2 separate regions of the Homo sapiens genome follow, and region 2 is linked to region 1. Evidence: promoter capture Hi-C in human tissues and cell types (Jung and others, 2019). All regions are on one chromosome and are shown on one strand. Each heading gives the region's core, a stretch centred on a gene start or on the middle of the fragment in contact. The rest is flanking DNA. Distances are from core to core; before and after follow the strand shown. Region 1 holds the start of CHD7 (chromodomain helicase DNA binding protein 7). Region 2 has its middle 14 kb from the start of LINC01301.

Evidence for each region. The method cuts DNA at HindIII sites, captures the fragments that hold promoters and counts their contacts. A contact is called where the count stands out against the background at its distance.
Region 2: a fragment that was not itself captured here is called in contact with the fragment with the promoter of CHD7 in region 1 in 1 of the 25 tissues and cell types used here (thymus).

The regions. Positions count from the first base shown.
Region 1 is chr8:60,675,813-60,681,082 of GRCh38, forward strand. CHD7 (chromodomain helicase DNA binding protein 7) reads left to right here and starts at 2,928. Exons shown (of 38, transcript NM_017780.4): 1 at 2,928-3,270. RefSeq lists silencers at 2,476-2,915, 3,276-3,375, 4,036-4,405. The HindIII fragment of the contact is 11,242 bases long and covers 1-5,270 here.
Region 2 is chr8:60,425,563-60,430,832 of GRCh38, forward strand. No RefSeq gene overlaps it. Among named protein-coding and RNA genes, the nearest start is that of LINC01301, 14 kb to the left of the region's middle. The HindIII fragment of the contact is 5,621 bases long and covers 1-5,270 here.

The DNA of each region.
Region 1 (5,270 bases), core at 1,678-4,177:
TATTTTAGATGTGCACATTACCCCCTCACCACAGGTATTATAGGTTGATACATTCTGGGCTATTTTTCCAGAGATATTTATTTGTCTGTGGAATTCAGCATTAAGTCTGAGCTCTTCAAATAGACTGTATCTATTCATGACCTAGGGCCTAGACAACCTTTTTGTAGTGGGTCATATTTTCTTTGGTGTTTTTCTCAACTGCTTTCTGCTTGGCCCGCTCCATTCTTCAATGCCCTCCTTCCCAGGTCCTTAGTACCTTTCCACTGTCCTCTGGCTACACGGAACTCAGGTCTGTCCTATTCCTCCAGGGCTCAGACTCCAAAATTAACATTCTCCCTTATCACCAGATCAAAACTACCAATCCACTAGATTGTAAACTCCATGAGGGCAGGACGTTTTGTCTGTTTTGTTCACTACTATATCTCCAGTACCTAGAACCAATCCTGGAAACTCTTAGGCACTCGAAGTTGAATGAATGGCTAAGTCTCTAAATTTGTTACTCTGGCTAGCTGTTGGGAGGAAAGCAACCCATTGAACCAATTTACACTCATCTGTGAAAGACCAGTAGCCCCTTATCTCACCCTAAGGTATTTGCATACTTAAAGAGAAAGCTTGTGAATTCAAATTACTCTCATTGGGAAAACTTCAATAGTGAAGCAAATGGAGAAAAAACATTTCAGGCTAAAGGGGAGTGTTGGGGGATGGTGGTGGTGTGGTGAGAGCTATGACTCAGGTAGGCCAGATCTGCCTAGGAGTTTGCCCCTGAGGGCCTCTACTTTTTAAGGCCCCTTACGTTCCACACCACCACAACATCTAAAAGCTTAGAGACTTCTTCATGATGGCTCAGGGCAGTGATCAGGATAAGGAGACTATAAGTCAGAGGACTTATATTCTGTAGGACTGTTTTTACATTGGGTACTGGTATATATCAAAAGGAAGTTTCCTAGCTTTCGAGTTAAATGTACAAGAGCACAGGGAATCTCCTCATAGTCATATTTGTTGATAACAAGTTAATTGCAATATTGTAATTTCACTATATGTAGATGTCATTTTTTTTCTCCTGTGAATTGCCTTGAAATAGATGCACATCTGATATCGAGCTGTGGCACACTGTAAAAGATAAGACATAATTTTTTATGGCACATTATTTTAAAAATGTGTTCTAATATAGTCAGGTACTAGCGATTTTTTTTCTAGACATTGTGTCCTGTTTTTGACCCCCCCGCCCCACACACCCCTAAAGCACCTTTCATATACTTTCATTGGGAAATATAAACTTAATGGAAACAGTAGCCTAACCTCAGAGTTGTGATTCTTGGTTTGTGATACCGGGTTTAAAACAGATGGAAGTTGATTTTAGTGGTTTCAACTTTTTAAATGCCAGAATTCTTTCTGTACTGTCTTCTATGTTCTTTTTGATGATCTGTAAGCTCCTTAAACATTAAAACATTTATTTCTTTTAGAACAAAACTCAAATACATGATGAAAGCAAGCTAAAAGCAGTGCATTTAACAAACCACAATATAATGTGATATATTTATAGAATTATTACTAAAATCAGAAAATCAATGTCTTAGTGATTAAGTCTAGGATAATCAAACTTATTGAATAGTTGCAGTAGTTACTTAATGAGATAGTTTTGATTAATCTTTTGTCCAAATAACAATATTGTGATTACAGGCTTAGCACTACAGGTAGTGTAACCATCAGTGAGTGAGATTAGTACATTTTACATAGTTTTGCTATTTTCTCAGTTTATTTTGGAGTCCAGTAATAACCAGTCAGTCTGTACCTGCCATAGGGCAATCTTTGGTTGATATGAGTTCCTTTCCTGATTTTAAAATAAGTGCAATCTTTAACCTAATAAAATTATCTTAAAGTTTACAATTGATGGTTTAAACACATTATAATTGCTCCGTATTTTGCAGATAGAAGAGGCTTAATCCATGTTTGTAGATCTATTTCCTAAAATAAAAATTAGTAAAAAAAAGTTTTTTTTCTTCAGGTTTAACATTCATTTTGTACCGGGAAGAGAAATGGAATAAGAGGCTCGGATTTTTAAGACTATGCAATCAGATACAAGTGCCATTTTGGCCAAAGAATGAGTAAAACATTCTAGTCCCGACACGTTTAATAATGGGCATACATCCTATTTCTTTGTTTCATAATCATTGAGCTCTCTGCCTTCTCTCTCTTTTTTGGTATGGTAACAAATTCGACAAAATCAATGCCATCTAGTTAAACTTTTTGATTAAGTAGTGGATCCGGTGTCCTATCCACGAAGAGGTGGGAAAAGCGATGTGGAGAAGCAGGCACGAACCCATCTGGAATGGAACATGTCCCTTCCGAATAATTTCATGTGGGAAAATAATTTCAAGTTGAAGGATAATTACTGCAGAGACTGCCAGTCACCCCCGGCCGCCGCCGGCCGCGCAGCGTCGGAAACCCTTCGCGGCAGCCAGGAGGGTCGCAGCCCTCCCGGAGCCCCGCTTCCTGCCCCGGGGCGGCGCACCCGGCTCCGGGAAGGTGCCGCGCGGGAGACGTGGCAGCAGCCCCTCCAGTCCGCGCCCGGGCGCAGCGGCCGAGCGCTCCGTGCAGCCGGGCAAGGAAGACTCCGCGGCAGCAGCGCACCGGCCGGCGGGGAGACCCGCCTGAAGCGCCGGCGCCCGCCAGGGGACGGGAAGTGGCGCCCGGCCCGCCCTTGCGGCCCGCGGCCCGCGGCCCAGCAGCTCCGCGCCGCCCCTTTTCTCTCGGCCTCTCCCTCGGCCTCCGCCACCCCGGCCGAATTCTTGCATAAATTATGCCAGGCGCGCCTGACGTCAGGTGGCGGCGCGCGGGCGCGGGCGCGGGCGCGGCGCGGCCCGGAGGGAGCTGGCGGCGGGCGCGCGCGGCCCCGCGGCTTCGGGTGCGCGCGGCGTGCCGGACGCGCGCAGGCGCTGGCGTGCTGGGGCCGCGGCGGCGGCGGCGGCGGCGGCGGCAGCGGCGGCGGCGGCGGCGGCGCGGGGGTTGAGTCGTGGTGGTGCGGACGCGCTCGTGCTCGGGAACTATCGGATTAAACTTGAATCGAGTGAAATTACACAAAGGAGCGCCGCGGAGGAGGCGGCCCGGGGACCCGGACACCCTGAAACTCACCAGAGACCCGTTCGCCCCCGGCCAACTCCGTGCCCGTGGATTCAGCCCCCTGGCCGCAGCTGCCGAGCCAACTCCGGAGCCCGCTCTGCGTTTTGTTTTCCCCTCGGCACTAGGCAGCGGAGGAGCCCGACCGACCCGGTGAGCGCGAGAGTTCGCCCGGCGCCCCCGGGAGGGGCGGCGGCGGCGGCGGCGGCAGGAAATCGCTCCGGGCCGGGGCCGGGGCCGCGCTAGGAGTTGGGAGCGAGGAGTTGGGCGTGTGCGGGGCGAGGGGCGAGGGGCGAGGGCGGGAGGGGGCCGGGGCCAGCGCAGGAGCGCAGCGCCGCCCGCGTAGTGTCGCCGGCGTCGCCGCCCGCGGGGCCCGAACCCGCGCCCCGAGCGCCGCCCGGCGCCCCAACTTTTGCCTGCGTCCGCCGGGCCGGCGGCGGCGGGGGCGCGCGGTGCGGCCGAGGGTCACTTCCTCGCATGTAAATGGCTTTTTGTTGTGCTGCCGGCGTGGGGGGGGGGTACGGGGGACAGGAGGGAGCGTGTCTGCGCGCGGGGGAGCGCGAGCGCGTTTCCTCCCGCCGGCGCCGAGCACGAGTTGCCGGCTCCATTCGAGAGAAAAAGGAAGGAGGAAAAGTTGGGCTCCAACTCAAGTGCGAGCGGGCGATGGGCGCGCGGGCGCGGGGCGGCTGAGCAGCGGCGGCGGCGGCTCGGGGACGGCGGCGACCCCCGCCTCCCGCCCCCGCCCCCCGCTCCGGACCGACCACGCCGCGCTCGCCGGGAGCTGCGGCCGCACCGGCGCGAACAAAGTGCGTTCCTCCCGGCGCGGCGGCGCCAGCCCGCGCGGGGACCGCCACCGAGCGAGGTGGGTCGGCGGCGGGGAAAGTGCGCGGGGCGCCGCGTGGGGCGGGGGCAGCGCGAACACGCGGCGCGGGAGGCGTCCCGAGCTCAGCCAGTGCCGGTCGCGGGCGCGGAGTTGCGAGCCCGGAGTTGGGGGCTCCTGGGGCTCCCCGGCGGCTCCCAAGTGCGCTAGGAGGAGAAGAAAGGGAGCGGGGCCGGGGCGAGCGCCGGGAGGCGCGGCGAGGAGGGGACCCCACCTTGTCGAGCTGGCCGGGCCGCCGGCGGCGGCAGCTGCATAATAGCGACTTTAACCTTCCAACGCAACTCGGCTCCCCCGCCCCCCAACCCGCCGGGGGTCAGCGCCGGTGGGGGGTGGTCACCAGGTGGCCCCCGAGGTGACCCGGGTGCGCTCTGCCCTCGCAGAGAGCCGCGGCTTGGAGCGTGAACGGCCGAGGTGGCTGGAGGCCAAGCGGTCAGCGGGGAGAGGAAAGGAGGGCGGTGGGGGACGCGTTGTTTGTTTGGTTCGCACCGGGGATTGGGCTCGCTGGGGGCGCGGGGCTCGGGCGGGGGCGCGGGCACCGGCTGGGCTGCGGTGCGGGGCGGGCGCGGCGGCGCGGGGCTGTCGAGGTCGCGGGGGGGGGGGGCGGGGGCGGCGGCGGCGGCGGCTCCCGGGCGGGGGTGGGGGCGCTGGTCGGGAGGCTCTGGGGAAGGAGCCGCCGGCCCCGAGCAGCCATCATTACCGAGCCGCCTTTCTCCGGATGGCTCTGCCTCGAGGAGCCCGGAGCCGTGGGAGCGCACCCCAAACTCCCGGCCGGCCGCCCGCTTTGTGAGCGCCCCCGTGAAGCGAGCGGCGCGGAGAGTGCTCCTGCTATGGGTCGGACTCTTTTCCTGGAGGTCACTTTTAGAGACTGCTCACGCCTTGGTTTAAACTAGTTTTTTTCCCCCTCTTCTGAACAGACAATGGACAAAAGAAAAGTAGCAACCCACATGGAGAGAGTTTCCTTTTGAATTGCTAGAATTAGATACACTATCCAGCGCTCCACTTGCTAAGTATACTTTTTAGTTTCCCATTGTATATTATCTAGCAATCGATTTAAATAACTTATCTTAAAAAGTGTCCCTTTTGGGGGCTTAATTTCTGGAATACATTACATGTCTTAATTTATTTTTAAAGGATTTTGTGAGGCCCTGATTTTTTATTTTCTAAAAATTTTAATTTAAGCCGTCTTTGCAGTGGGCGATACCTTTCTAAGGGGTTAAGTGTTATTTCACCCCAGTTCTCTCTCGGTAAGGGAGGGAGTACTCAGTATACGTAG
Region 2 (5,270 bases), core at 1,313-3,812, 250 kb before region 1:
TTTTAGTATTACGCATAATAGAAAAAAATTAAAGACAACCCAAATTGCAACAATTATGAAACAATCAAGCCGATTATTCTACTAAGCCCAGCTTAGTAGAATGTAATGCAGTCATTTAAAATTATAATGCTTAGACATCTGTAACACTTTGGGAAAGTGTTTAGAATGCACTAAACAAAAATCTAAGTACCTGCTTATAAAGTGTGATGTATTTGAATCCCAGCTCTACCATTTACCAGCTGTAAGGCGTTGCAAATATTACTTAATCTCTGTGCCTCAGTTTTTCAGTTTGTAAAACAGAAAAAGTAATAATACCTACCTAGTAATGTTGGTGTACAGATTAAATGAGTCATTGTACATAAAACTGCTTAGAAAACTCGCACATAAGTGCTATGTGAATGTTTCTGATTCTTTGTCATTAGAATATTTCCCATCATATCATTATCATAACCTTTATAATAAATAAAAATTAGAATTTAAAAATCCCCTTCTTAGATATTGTTGCTAAAACATATTTCATATTCTTTAAGAATAACCCACAGTAGGCTGGTGGTGAAGAGTGGCTCACGCTTGTAATCCCAGCACTTTGAAAGGCCAAGGTGGGTGAATCACCTGAGGTCAAGAGTTCGAGACCAGCCTGGCCAACATGGTGAAACCCTGTCTCTACTAAAAATACAAAAATTAGCCAGACATGGTGGCAGGTGTCCATAATCCCAGCTACTCAGGAGGCTGAGGCAGGAAAATCCCTTGAACCCAGGAGGTGGAGGTTGCAGTGAGCCGAGATTGTACCACTGCACTCCAGCCTGGGCAACAGAGTGAGACTCTGTCTCAAAAAAAAACAAAAAAAACAAAAAAAAACCGCACAGTATCCTCAAGAACATTTTAGTTCAATGATACATATTATGCACTTGCTAGGTATCAAGCCCCATGTGACCCCCGCCCTAAGGGAGCTTACAGTCAGTTAAAGCAGAAGAAATCACACAATCTCAACAGTCCTGATGGCCTCAGCTTTGCACATCACCCTCCCATCCTAAATTGCAAATGCCATTTCATCATTTTATCATTTTTGGCCACTGTTAATGCACCCTGAAGATTTGTTTTACATTATATTTATATAAGTAGTCCTAAGATACATAAAGTGTTCTTCTGTTTTGAATGGGCTTCTATTTTTGCTAGATTTGAACAAGTGTAGTAATTTCAATTTCCTGTTGTTATTTAACAATTCTCATTTCACACAGGTATCATTTAGGTGTTAACACAAAAAAGTGGATTTTTCAAAACATGTTTAAATCTCCATATTTTTTAGCATCTTGACCTTCTAAATCAACACAAAATCTTCAATTCTGCAAAGATACAATGCATTCCATTCCTGTTTCCATATTTCCAATCATTCAACAAATGTTTATTGAGTACGTGTTATGTACCAGACACATTCAGTGCTAGGCACCAGGGATGAGAAGACAGTTCCTGTCTCAAGGTTTGCTCCTTCTAAATGGGGAAGCTCCCATCACAATGTGAAAAATGAGAATAATAATAAGAGTGTGTACTGGAACTATGGAGCAAGGAGTTGGAAACCAAAAGAAAGCATCCTGATCCATTCTGAAAACAGACCTTTCAAAGAATAAGGCATTTGAAGCCAGTCCTAGAGGCCATCTGGTGATAACTAGGCAGAAAAATCCTTCCAGGATAATAATGTAGACTAAGCAAAGCTAAGAAAGCATAAGAGAGCATAATGTGTTTAAAAAACACTTAGGTTCAGCTAGCCATGGTGGCTCACACCCGTAATCCCAGCACCTTGGGAGGCTGAGGCGGGTAGATCACTTGAGGCCAGGAGTTTGAGACCAGCCTGGCCAACATGAAGAAACTCCATCTCTACTAAAAAATACAAAAATTAGCTGGGTATGGTGGTGGCCTGTAATCCCAGCTACTCAGGAGGCTGAGGCTCAAGAATCACTTGAGCCTGGGAGGCAGAGGCTGCAGTGACCTGAGACTGCACCACTGCACTCCAGCCTGGGTGACAGAGTGATACTCTGCCTCAAAAATAAAACAAAAACAAAAAAAACCACTTAGGTTAAATGGAACAAAACCATGGGTAGAGAGTGTTAAATAAAAGAGGAAGCAAAGATCTCTTACAACCCCTACTGAAGACATTGAGATTTATCTTTCTTGGGAGAGAAAGTCAAAAAAAAAAAAAAAAAAAACCGCAACAAAAAAACAACCAACCTGTAGGCCAGGGAATAGAATCTTCAGATTTGCATCACAAAAATCCATCTGATGAAAACATGAAAGAAGAGAGACTGGCAAAAAGAGTTCAGCCAGGTGGCTTGTGAAGTAGTAAAACAATAAATTAAGAGGGCCTGAACTACGACAGTGACCACAGCAAAGATTGGATAGTGGGTATACTTAAGGCTATACAGAAGACTAAATTTAAAAGAAAAGCCTTATGCACAAATACTGCATGGAGTATAACAATCCCTTGAATGCACAGAATAGCTCACGAGAAAGGAGAAGGCTCCTACAACTCAGCAAAAGTAAAGGTGGGGGATGGGGGGAGGGAGAGCATCAAGATAAATAGCTAATGCATGCAGGGCTTAATACCTAGGTGATGGGTTGACAGGTGCAGCAAACCACCATGGCACACATTTACTTATGTAACAAATCTGTACATCCTGCACATGCATCCTGGAATTTAAAATTAAATTAAATTAAATTTTAAAAATTCAAAAAGAAAAGATGTTCAACAACAACAACAGCAAGAAAAGTAAAGACTAGAAAAACCTGTCCACAAACACAAGGAGATGACAAGGAAGCTGGTCTATCCTAACACAAGCTCTGATGGAAAAAAACCCTCCCTGATAATTTGAAACAATAGGTCTGCCCTCACCTAAGCTTGTGGTTGAAATTTACACCTTGTGAGGGTTCTGGAGCATGGAGCCTAAGAAAATAACATAAACATGGAACAGTATAAAATAAGATCTATGGTGAGAAAAAAAAAGTAAGATACAAAACAGTGCAGGTAATAGAGTGCCACTAATGTAAAAGGTAATAATAGCCAGGTACATATATGTTGCATATGCACAGACCATCTTACCTAAAAATGTGTCCCAGGCTCAGTCTTTGATCCTCATCTCTCCTCTAGTGATACTCACTCTATTAGTGATCTCACCCAGTCTCAAGGCTTGTTGATCACTTTAAACTGGTTGCTCTCAAATTTATACTTCTGGCCCAGACCTCTCTCCCACAACCCAGACTCGGATATTCAACAGCCAACTCAAAATCTCCGCTTAGATGCATGAGACATCTAAAATCCAAAACTTTTCTTATATCCTCTCAAGCCTGTTCCTCCACATCCTTCCCCATTTTCACTGACAGTAAATCCATCCTTCCAGCTGCTTTGTTCTAAACCCTTAGAGTCATCCTTGAGTCTGTGCTGGCTCTCACATCCCACATCCAATTCATCAGGAAAGACCATTGGATCTATCTTCAAGATATGTCTAGAATCCTACTGCATTACACCTTCTCCATGGCCACCACCCTGGACAAAATCAACATCATAAGAATTCCTGTGTATTGTAAATTTTGAAACATCATATTTTCCTGCTGCCTCAACATCTCCATGAATAGACTGGGAGCATTCCACCCAGGCAACCAGATGAGCCTATGTGATAATATTGACGCAAGACGTAAGTTCTCCTTCTTGCTCTTCCCAGACTGCGACCAGTGATATTCAAATACACCAGTGAAATCACCTTGCAACTTTTCTTATATACTCTACCCTAACCCCGAATTACTTGGCCCAGTGTCCTCATTCTTTCACTTCTCCCCACTGCTTGGCTGAGCTTATTCCTTTGGTACCCTTCCTGTGTGACCCTCTTGTGGTGTGCAGTGACTCTATCTCTCTAGGACCTGTGAGGATAACAAACTATGTTTTCCTATGCCTCTTTTGTGTCCCTTTTTGTGGCCTCCTCAAACTGATCATCTCATGAAAGAATATAAGACAACCTGCATCACTGCACCAACTTCTCACAGGTCTCCCTGCTTCTACCTTTTTCCCCCCACCACACTCACACACTGTAATTTAAATTTAGAAGCCAGAGTGAGCCTTTAAAAATAGAAGATCATGGCTGGGGGCGGTGGCTCACACCTGTAATCTCAGCACTTTGGTAGGCTGAGGCAGGCAGATCACTTGAGGTTAGGAGTTTGAGACCAGCCTGGCCAACATGGTGAAACCCTGTCTCTACTAATAATACAAAAATTAGCTGGGCATGGTGGTGTATGCCTGTAATCCCAGCTACTTGGGAGGCTGAGGCAGGACAACCACTTGAACCAGGAGGCAGAGGTTGCAGTGAGCTGAGATCGTGCCACTGCACTCTAGCCTGGGTAATACAGCAAGACTCCATCTCAAAAAAAATAATAATAATAATTATATATATATATATATATATATATAAAATCATGCCACTGTTTGGCTCAAATTCCTGAAATGGCTTCCAGTGTCACCCAAAGTAAGAGCCAAGGTCTTCCCAATGGCTTACAAGAGTTTGTCTGATCTGTACTCCCATACCTCTAGATATTTCACTACTCCCCGTTCCTGCCCTCCACTGCAGCACATTAGGCTCCTTGCTATTTTGTGAGCACGCCAGGCATGTTCCTTCCTTATACCCCTTGATCTAGCTGTTCCCTTGGCCTGGAACATGCATCCCCACTTATCCACTTGCTAACAAGTTGCCTTTTAAAGTCTTTGATCAAGTCTCATCAAGTCAAGGAGACTTACCATGAGGATATCATGTATTAAGGCAGCTGGTCCCTGGCCCCAGCACTCTTACTCTTCTAACACTGCTTTACTTGTCCCATTCACCTATCACTCTGACTGTCAATCACCTTATACAATTTAGTTATTGGTTGTGTTTGTTATTTATTTTCTGCCCCCCTCCCAGTATATATACACACACACACGCTCCCCTGGAAGGTAAACTTTCTGGAAACAGGAATTTTTGTGTTTGTTTGTTTGTTTTTTTTTTTTTTTGAGACGGGGTCCCGCTCTTTAGCCCAGGCCGGATTGCAGTGGCACAATCTTGGCTCACTGCAAGCTCCGCCTCCCAGGTTCACGCCATTCTCCTGCCTCAGCCTCCCGAGTAGCTGGGACTACAGGCGCCCGCCACCGCGCCCGGCTAATTTTTTGTATTTATAGTAGAGACGGGGTTTCACCGTGTTAGCCAAGATGGTCTCGATCTCCTGACCTTGTGATCCGCCCGCCTCGGCCTCCCAAA